3 separate regions of the Homo sapiens genome follow, and regions 2 and 3 are each linked to region 1. The links are contacts of gene promoters, found by promoter capture Hi-C in human tissues and cell types (Jung and others, 2019). All regions are on one chromosome and are shown on one strand. Each heading gives the region's core, a stretch centred on a gene start or on the middle of the fragment in contact. The rest is flanking DNA. Distances are from core to core; before and after follow the strand shown. Region 1 holds the start of PLD5 (phospholipase D family member 5). Region 2 has its middle 170 kb from the start of PLD5. Region 3 has its middle 200 kb from the start of PLD5.

The links. Contacts are between HindIII fragments. The study calls those that stand out against the background at their distance.
Region 2: a contact is called between a fragment that was not itself captured here and the fragment with the promoter of PLD5 in region 1, in 6 of the 25 tissues and cell types used here (H1 embryonic stem cells, heart right ventricle, hippocampus and 3 more).
Region 3: a fragment that was not itself captured here is called in contact with the fragment with the promoter of PLD5 in region 1 in 6 of the 25 tissues and cell types used here (hippocampus, mesendoderm cells, neural progenitor cells and 3 more).

The regions. Positions count from the first base shown.
Region 1 is chr1:242,522,825-242,526,062 of GRCh38, reverse strand. It overlaps PLD5 (phospholipase D family member 5), which reads left to right and starts at 1,366. Exons shown (of 10, transcript NM_001372062.1): 1 at 1,366-1,975. The coding sequence starts at 1,787. The HindIII fragment of the contact is 9,545 bases long and covers 1-3,238 here.
Region 2 is chr1:242,691,166-242,694,347 of GRCh38, reverse strand. No RefSeq gene overlaps it. Among named protein-coding and RNA genes, the nearest start is that of PLD5, 170 kb to the right of the region's middle. The HindIII fragment of the contact is 3,960 bases long and covers 1-3,182 here.
Region 3 is chr1:242,724,314-242,727,470 of GRCh38, reverse strand. No RefSeq gene overlaps it. Among named protein-coding and RNA genes, the nearest start is that of PLD5, 200 kb to the right of the region's middle. The HindIII fragment of the contact is 5,147 bases long and covers 1-3,157 here.

The sequences.
Region 1 (3,238 bases), core at 117-2,616:
TTCACTTTCCTCACTGGAAAGGAGGGTTAATAACATTTATCTTGCAGGATAACATGAGACTTAGAGATAGCCCACAGGTCGGGGCATCTATTGCACAATATAGTTCAGCTCCTAAGAAAACCAACCTAGCACAACCAAAATGTGTGTATTTGTGTTTAGTTGTTTCATCCCCATATTGAATGTGCACAGGATTTTATTTCAACTACTATTTTTACTATACCATTTTTTTAAATGGAGACTTTGAAAAGATATGAAACACAATCCCTGTCCTCCTAAAAGTTTGTGAAATCCCAGCCAGAATGTCTTTGAAACCGTCATTCAAGTAGGGCAGTTCTGCCGAGGGCTAGAGAGCCTTCAGTTTACCCTTGGCAACACCCTCTAAAATCCCCTGTATACCTCTCCAGCTTCCATACACTTCCCAAGCTTTTAACCAGACACGAGACACCCTGAACACCAGCTGTTTAGCATTTAGATAAAACCAAAAAATGTTTCGAGAGGTTGACTCCAAAGATAGCAAAAGATGAAGAGATTGAAGATTTAATCGCGAACAAGCCACCCTATTCCTAATAATCATCACGCTTGGCTGGGCCCCGAAGGAAAAGCCTGGACCCTAGGGGCCTAGAAACAGAGAAAAGAAACAAATGCACAGCAGTTGGGCCACGTCCACCTAAGGAACAGTCACCGCACAAGCGGAGCGTTGCAGAGGAGCCCTGGATCACCCTCCCAGGATCGGAATGGGTGCGGCCCGGGGAGCCCGGTTCTAGGTGGACACCGAGGGCTGGGGAGCAACCGGTCCCGCGTGCCTGCCCGAGGGGCTACTGCCCCCGGGCGTATTTGCATCGCCACACCATCGGATGAAAGTAGCGTGTACGGCTCCAGAAAACACATGTCTCTCGGCTATTTTCAGGGGGGAATGCTGGGCACCCTCTGCTCTAAGTCCCTTGGGGTGGGAAGTTAGTGAACTTTCAGAATGGGGGAAGGCGCAGCCCAAGCGAGCCGGGGGCAGGGTGAGGGGGCGCCGCTGGATAGAGATGGGGGAAGGGCGGAGGTGGTTTCCTGAGTGTCTCCCTCCGGAGCCATCCCCGCGCTCAGCCAGCAGGACCGAGGAGGCGCGGAGACGGCGCTCACTTCTCCCCTCGCCTGCCGGCTTTCCAGTAAAGATGCGCCAGGGAGAGGTGTAGCCTGCTCGGGAAAGGCGGGTGCGGAGCGGGAGCGCGGCCGCCCGGGCCTGGGCGCGGCGGGAGGGGCGGCGGCGGCTCCTCACTGCACCAACCTGCAGGCGCGGGCTGGCTGGGCCAGCCGCGGCCCCTCCCACCGCACCCCACCCCCGCCGCCGCCGCCGCCCCGGGAGCCGGCCCGGGTCCCAGTAGGTGCCGCAAGGAGCCGGCGAGCGGAGCGCCCGCTCGGGACCGCAGCCGCCGGGCGACGTCGCCGCCGCACCGGGCACTTCTGTCTCCCCGGAGCAGGTTCCTTTCCCTCCCTGTCCCCTCTCGTCCCCCTTCTCCCCGTCCGTCCCCCTCCGCCCCCGCCCCCGCCCCCGCCCGCACCTCGCCCTCCCTCCTTCCGCCCCGCGCCTCCCGCGATCGCCCCCTCCCGCCCGGCCGCGCTCCCAGCTGGCGCTCAGCACCCCGCGCTCCCCGCGCCCGCTCGCTCCTCCAGCTCCTCCAGCTCAGTCTCCAGCTCCACCTCCGGCTCCCGCTGGGCCTCCCGCTCGCCCTCCGCGCCCGGCTCCCCGCGCGCCCGTCCCGAGTCCGCTGCTCGCCGGCGGCCGCCCGGTCATGTCAGGATGGAGATCCGGCAGCACGAGTGGCTCTCGGCCTCCCCCCATGAGGGCTTCGAGCAGATGAGGCTCAAAAGCCGCCCCAAGGAGCCCTCCCCAAGCCTGACCCGAGTGGGCGCGAACTTCTACAGCAGCGTCAAGCAGCAGGACTACAGCGCCAGCGTCTGGCTTCGGAGGAAAGACAAGCTGGAGCACGTAAGGGCGACTCGCTCCCGGGGGCCTCGGCCAGGCACCTGCCGCATGCACCCTCCCCGTGGTGGTGGCATGAGCGCGCGCGGGGCGCGGGGGGCAGGCGAGGGGATCCTGGCAGGCGCCGACGTCCTAGGTCGGATTCGGGGGCTTCTCTGCCTGCAGTTTCTTGCCTTAATGACCGGGCTGCGGGGAGGGGAGGGCAGGTTCCCTTTCAGGCTCTTGGTCCCTGCCGACCCGACCTGCCCACCTGCGTCTCCCGGTAGGGTTCATTTGCACGGGGTTCTGGAGGTGCCTGTGCAGAGTGAGCACGAAGGGGAAGTGCCACCAGCGTGGCTCCGAGCAACCTGGCGTTGCATGGTAGTGGGCTTTAGAGCGGCGTTTGCCCGCGTCTTTGGGGGCTGTTTTACTCAGTCCAAAAACTAGCAAATTAACGAATGAGTAAAGTTGGCGCCGCTAGCGACCAGCGTGGACCCGCGCACAAGCCATTAGAGTTTTTTGCAGAGTGTCCGCTGGGATGAGCAGTTGGTGATCCTCTCTACTTGAGCCCAACTAGGGAGAGATTTGCGCGTTGCAAGGAGAAAGGCTAAAAGCGAGCGGATCGTCGGGCTCCCCAGAAATCCTCCCCTCTGGAGGGTGGGAGCCGGTGAGAGGGGACCTCTACTCCCAAGGAGTGCCGACTTCACGCGAAGTGAATTGGCTCTGGAGTTGAGCTCCTAAGGCTTGCTATTTTGAAAGAAAAAAAAAAAACCTTCTAAAAAGGCGTTTAGTGGATCCACAGTTTCAAATTTGATCCATCAGCATCTTCTTAAACCAAATGTTAAAATTAAACTAAGAGAATTATCTCAAGAGTGCAGCACAACTAGCTAAGGAGAAGATGCTATTTCTCCCTGCAGAGCTGCAGAATCCAAATTGAGTCTGCTAATGGAATGTGGAGGTTTCCTTGTATTTGGGTCAGGACGCCAACAATGATAAAAAAGATAAGACCAAGAACTCCTGGAACTCACGCATTTCCAACTGCTGCACCGACCTGCTTCCCATCTGCCCCCCAAAGCACTCCTCCTGGGCTCTGCAGCACCAACAGGCTTCTTCCCAGGAGGAAACACGCGAAGAAGGGGCATTTCTCTATTATAATAATCTGAAAGGAAGGTCTGTGCCTGCTTTCTGAGGGCCTGATGAAGTCACTGAAAGCTCTAATATGAAGCTTTGAGTTGGATAACAGCACTATTTTATGTGTAGAGAGCCATTTGCTAATGTCAAAGGGATGCC
Region 2 (3,182 bases), core at 395-2,894, 170 kb before region 1:
GCTTGAACCTGGGAGGCAGAGGTTGCAGTGAGCCGAGATCTCACCACTGTACTCCAGCCTGGGTGACAAGAGTGAAACTCCATCTCAAAATAATAATAAGTTTTCAAAAATATATGTGGATGAAATGAATGAATGGGATATATATATATGTGTGTGTATATACATATACATGCATGCATAGACATAGACACACACGTATCAAGAACACGCAATACTGAGAGAGGAACGCAATGGTGGCTAGAGAAACAAGGCATGATTGGGGAGTGCCGACGAAGGTGTTAATAGTGATGTCTGGGTGGTCTAGGAAGGTTGGGGAAAGGAAGCGGGGCTCTTGCTGGTCCTTGAGAGATGAGTGGCAGGATTTTGATAATGATTAGGCAAAAGGAGAAAAGCACCAGGCTAGGGACAGAAATGGGATAAAAGTCAACCCCAAAGCTTAGTCCTTGGTTGTAGCGATTGGGTCATATCTTAGGAATATTAACCTTTACTCTAATCTTCCTTCTGATCTTCCCTGTTTTGTCTCATCTATGCAAAACAAACATCACAGACTCTCTCTTGAACTTTTCCAGAAGGCTTTCTTTCTCAGGCCATCACAACCATACTCTTCTGCTGCAAGCGTGCTATCCTATCTGTGGATTTTGCCCAAAATAGGATTTTATTCATCTCATCACCTCAGTGGCATCATCTCATTTTGAAGCAATTTAAAATGTTTTCTCCATCTACACTAGTTGGATTTTCTTTGCTCTGTTACCCACTTCCAGTAATTGCATTCCTCAAAGAAAAGACAACCTGACAGCATAGAAAAATGCTAGGAATTAAAACTTCATCATCACTGGAGTCCTTCTATCTCTTCATGTTACTGAGTAGAGAGAGAAGATATCTCAAAATAAATGCCTGATACTAAATAACTGCACTGGTAGCTTCACTGCCACCCTGGAAGATATGAAAGAGATAGAATGCCTCTATGAGTTTTCTATGCCACACCTGGTGGCTGCCTGCCTCACCAGTGGGAAGTGGAAAATGAAATCTTGGCAAGGGACCTGGTTTTCAGTGAAAAGCGTTATTGTCTACAGCCCTGAGATAGAGCAGGAGAAGTTGGTGGAGAGAGGGTTTGGAGTGAATGGTCATATGGAAGAAGTGAATGAGATCCCGTTTCCTGCATTATGAGAAACTCTTAACCTCTTAGGGAGATGAGTCAGTGTAATAAATCAGGATGGAATCCTAAGCTGTTAGTTGCCAGGGCTATATTTCAGAATGTATTAATTAGTGCACTCTTATTTATTCTCCCTTCCTATAGGCTAAGCTTAATATAGTTGTAACTCCATGAATGAGACTGTATTCTTGCTATTTTTTAAGCATCAGCAAGTTGAGGAGGAAATGCAGAGGAAGACCTGAATATGTTCTGTTTCTGCTCCTCCATCACAGCCAGGGTTCCAGAAGGAGCTGAAAATCAAGAAAGTTTGGCAATAAGCTAAAATCAAATCTGACTTCGGATCACGAGGTCAGGAGATCGAGACCATCCTGGCTAACACGGTGAAACCTCATCTCTACTAAAAATACAAAAAATTAGCCAGGCGTGGTGGCGGGCACCTGTAGTCCCAGCTACTCGGGAGGCTGAGGCAGGAGGGAGAATGGCGTGAACCCGGGAGGTGGAGCTTGCGGTGAGCTGAGATGGTGCCACTGCACTCTAGCCTGGGCGACAGAGTGAAACTCCATCTCACACACACACACAAAAAAAAAAAAAAAAAAAAAAAGAGAAAAAGAAAAAGAAAAGAAACTAAGGTCTAATACAAATCACATGAGGCTGTTACTTAGATTGCATTTACTCGGCAGCCCAACTATTCAAAATCTGAAATAAGATTTATTGACACAAACCCAGTTTTTGTATGAGAGCCAACATATCTTGGCAATTAGGTTCAAAGGAAGCAAATACACTTTGAAATTTTTTTGCAAAAGTGATATCTCATTTATTAATGCATTGATTTAAGCCAAAATGTAAATAATTCTAAGTGTATGTGGCTTGAGGTAAAGAAAATTTTTCTATTTTAAAATTTCCATTAATTCAGTAATGTGTTCCTTTTATTGTTCTTGTTTGGTGCTTACCCTTTGTCCATGAGTCTGTTCTTAGGGTGTGTGTGTGTGTGTGTTTGTGTGTGTGTGTGTGTCTAAACAGAGCAGAAATGACTTGCCGGTGGGGAAATGAGCAGGCCTATAGCATTCAGCAGGCATGTGAAGAAATGAACACCTGGGTACTCACTTTGAATCCACTGATCTTGACCTTGAACTTGGCCTGCCCCTCCAGGACCCTATTCACTTTCACGTTACCCCTTGCAGGTAGCTACCAGGTTCGTGCCAAATAATGTCACTCTTTGCCCAGCTAAGGTGTTTATGGCAGGTGGATTGCGCCTGAAGATGTCCTATTGCTGTGGTCCAGTGAGTATAAATTAATGAGTGATGCTGCTCACAGGTGCACCTGGAGGCCCTCCTGCCTGATGAACCCCTAAGCTTGGCATTTTTTTCTGAGGCAGAGTGTGTCCAGATGGCAGCTTCTGAAGAACCAAGCCCAGCACCTGAATCAGCTCTGTTTTTTTTGCTCAAAATGCTTGGTGCCAGGGCCTCTCTGTCAGATGCTAAGACAAGGGAGCTCAGCAACTGCTGGCTGTCAGCCCTACCTGCAGGTCCAGCCTGCTGGGCTTCGTGCTGGGACACAAAAGAGAACAAAAAGAGAACTGGGCTTTTGGTAACTCCAGGGAAAATATTCTGCTGGCCTCAGGCTTGGGAGAAGATTTACAGGCTATTTTAAGGGGTTCAACGGAGCCCATAGAGTCTGCATTGAATAACTGGACCCACAGCTGTTATTTCTGAATAAGCTTTCAGTTTCATAATTACATCCCCCTCACACTGGGCTCTGAGAATACCCTCAGTTGGGTCTGAACAGATTGAAGTGCTTTAGCTACCACAGAAGTGGGAAGCTTAACCCCACTGGTGAATACAGACGAATGGATCCCATCATTCACTCAGCAAGGACACTGAGCACGGCTGCGTGCCAGGCTCTGTGCTCTGGGATCCTCCAGGACTGTGCTGACAACAGAGAAGTTGTAGAATTATGAAACAAGACAGCCTGTGCTTTGACTAGGTAAACAGCGGGACTGTCTCAGGAAGTTCAGAGGAAGGGCCTTTAG
Region 3 (3,157 bases), core at 88-2,587, 200 kb before region 1:
TGAAGCTGAGTGTTATCGTGTGTTAGCAAGACGTTAAGCTCCTGTACACTAATTCCTGAAAACGCCATTGTATTTTTGGAACCGCACTGTGTTTTTGCTTGATTTAACTTGATGTTCTTTCTCAGTGAGTAATTTTTACGGTTCCTGTTAAAAAAAAATACCAAGTTGTCTCATTTGCTGTGGCCATTTGATTGTAGTTCCTGATGTAATCTCTAGCACAAAGGTCCCATTGAAGAGTTTATTTTGGTTTCTATATGTGGGTCAATCACATAATGCAGTTTACTGTGTGAATTTTGAAGAATTCCAATCCTTCTAATAGTGCTTGGAAATATGAGTACAAATATTGGGCTTTAATGCATTGAAAGGTGTTGTAGGAGGCAAACAACATAGAAATTAGGGTTTTGACACATTTTTCAAGGAAGGGGCTTGAAGGAGGAGGTGTAGTGGCAGGCATCTCTGGAGAACACCACTGACTAAAATAAAAAAAAAAATTTTCTCCAAGTTTCCCATCTGTTACATACTGGATTTTTCCTGTAAATATCAAGTTTAATGAAACATACATCCTGAATACATTGAAGGGGAAATAACAATCACCAGCTCCTGCCTGGTTAAATGTTGACTCTAATAAATGAGTTGCCTGCACAGCTGTTCAATTTTATAATTTCTCATGGTGGCTAGTTCCTCATTTCCATCTTTGAAATGCTTTTTAAAAATCCTGGAAAGAACATTTAGTTTTTAAATTGAGGAAGATTAGTGATAATCTCATTAGCAATCTGGATGGTAATTTTCATTTAGTGGGTGCCTTCTCTATGAATCTTGGGAAATTCTGAGAATTCATTGTTGCTAAACTTTTTGCTAAAAATATCCTTCCTAAATGGAAAAGTCTGTGTCATGCATGCTAGTGTGAATGTGGGCTCGTGAAGGAACTGGCAGCCTAGATAGATACCCTGAGAGTGATGAGGTGGTGTGTATCAGTCAGTGTTTACCACAGTAATGCTGCATAACAAACCACCCCCAAAGTCTGGACCATACAATGAAAGCATTTATTTCTGGCTTGTGTATATATGAGTCAGCTTGTCTGGGCTCAGCTAGATTTGGCTGCAGGCCTTGAGTTCAATTTAGATCTGTTTCAAGCATCTTATTTTTCTGAGTCAAGTAGGCAACTCTGCAAGGCATGTTCTTCTCACGTTAATGTCAGGGTGCAAGAGGACAAGCCTAATCATGCCAGTGCATTATATCATACCCCACTGGCCAAAGCAGACATGTGGCTAAACCCAAAGATTAGCCAAATTCTGCCTATAGTGGGAGGAACTGCAAAAGCCACAGGACAAAATGTATGGATAGTAGAAAGGGCAAAGAATTGGAGTGAAAAATTCCATCGACCACATGCCGCTTCCCTTGGAATGCATCCAATGATAATCAAATAAATTTTAAAATTGCTTATCATGAAGTTACAGCACGTGCACACCCTCTTGTCCTTCTTGCAGTGATAAAATCTACTAGCTGTGGTGTAGTAGTAATTTTTAACTATTCCATCCTTTTTACTTTCTAAAGCACCAGAAGCTTGTTTTAAAACAATTTTATGTAGACCACGATTTATGAAATGAATAATGGTGGAGCTGTACCGGTGGGAAGGCCAAGAGAGGGAGGAGTCGGTAATAGGGTGGTCAGGCAAAATATAGGATGCCCAGCTGAATTTGGATTTCAGACAATGAATAATTTTCTAGTACGGGTGTGTCCCATGATGTCCTTTGTTTTTTCTTTTCCCTATTCCTCCTCCTCCTCCTTCTGCTAAATCTGGCAGCCATAAATGAGAACAACACATAACGTGTCCATTCCCCCTCCTCCGTTTGTTTGTTTGTTTGAGACAGAGTCTCACTCTGTTGTCCAGGCTGCAGTGCAGTGGCATGATCTCGACTCACTGCAATCTCTGCCTCCTGTGTTCAAGTGATTCTCCTGCCTCAGCCTCCCAAGAAGCTGGGATTACATGTGTGTGTCACCATGCCTGGCTTATTTTTGTGTTTTTGGTAGAGATGGGGTTTCACCATGTTGGCCAGGCTGGTCTCAAACTTTTGACCTCAGGTGATCCACCCGCCTTGGCATCCCAAAGTGCTAGAGTTACAGGCGTGAGCCACTGCACCCAGCCACACCTCCTCCTTTACTACCTCCTCTAGTCACATGCGCCTGATGCCCCTGACCTGCCCAGATACAGCCACGCTTCTCTCCTTCTCTGAGCTGTGGAGACTGCAGGTTTCTAGACCTTAACTTGTCTTCCTCTGGCTCTCCCATGGAAAACACAGTTCAGAAATTCCTTTCTCCCACAGTGCCTTCTGGTCCTATCCTGTGATTCCTTCAGAAAAACTGACGCTGGACTGAAGACTGACTCTGGAAGAGCAAACCAGAGACTGTTGGAGACTCTGCCAGGGCTAGATCATGGAGTAAGCTCTGCAAAAGAAGCCACATAAAATCGTTTGCAAAAAGAGTTCTTACACTTAAAAGAAGAATTACAGGAAGGAATGATTGAAAATTCCATGCCACGATGGTTTCTGATCAGTGTAGTGATTGATTTCTTATGGAGCACCTGAAAGATTCATTTTTGCTCAAGGTAGAGGCATAATGGGCAGAGGCTTCTTCTGCCCCAGCACCCCAATTCCCCCTCCACTGGACTCCGCCCTGCAGCAGTTCTGCCGTCATGGAGCTCATATACTGAGGTTCTTGATGACCTTGTTTGATCATCAAGTTCTTTGTGGACCAGGCAAGCACTTGAGGTAGCTCTTCTTGCCCTTGAGAAGCTTGGTTTCTCTGACCGTCTGTCCACACTGTCTCTGCAGAACAATGAGCGCCTTACATTTCGACAGGGAAAGTCAGCACTGTTAAAACTTATGTGATTGATTTTATTCCTTCAACGCAGGGATTTAAATTCTGCGAAGTCCGGGGAAAACCTCAGGCCATACTGAAATGGAAGTCGCTTTAGATTTATGTCTTTGCAAATCATAAACAGTGGGCACATAGAAGCCTATAGATTGTTGTATTAAAACATGACGTCTTCAGCAGCATTCAAGGCTTCCTGAAGACTTTAATGAGTGGGGAATATTTGATCTGCTCTCATGCCGACATCAGCAATGAGCTCAAAAGTTCTGAGAAGATGCAGTTAAGT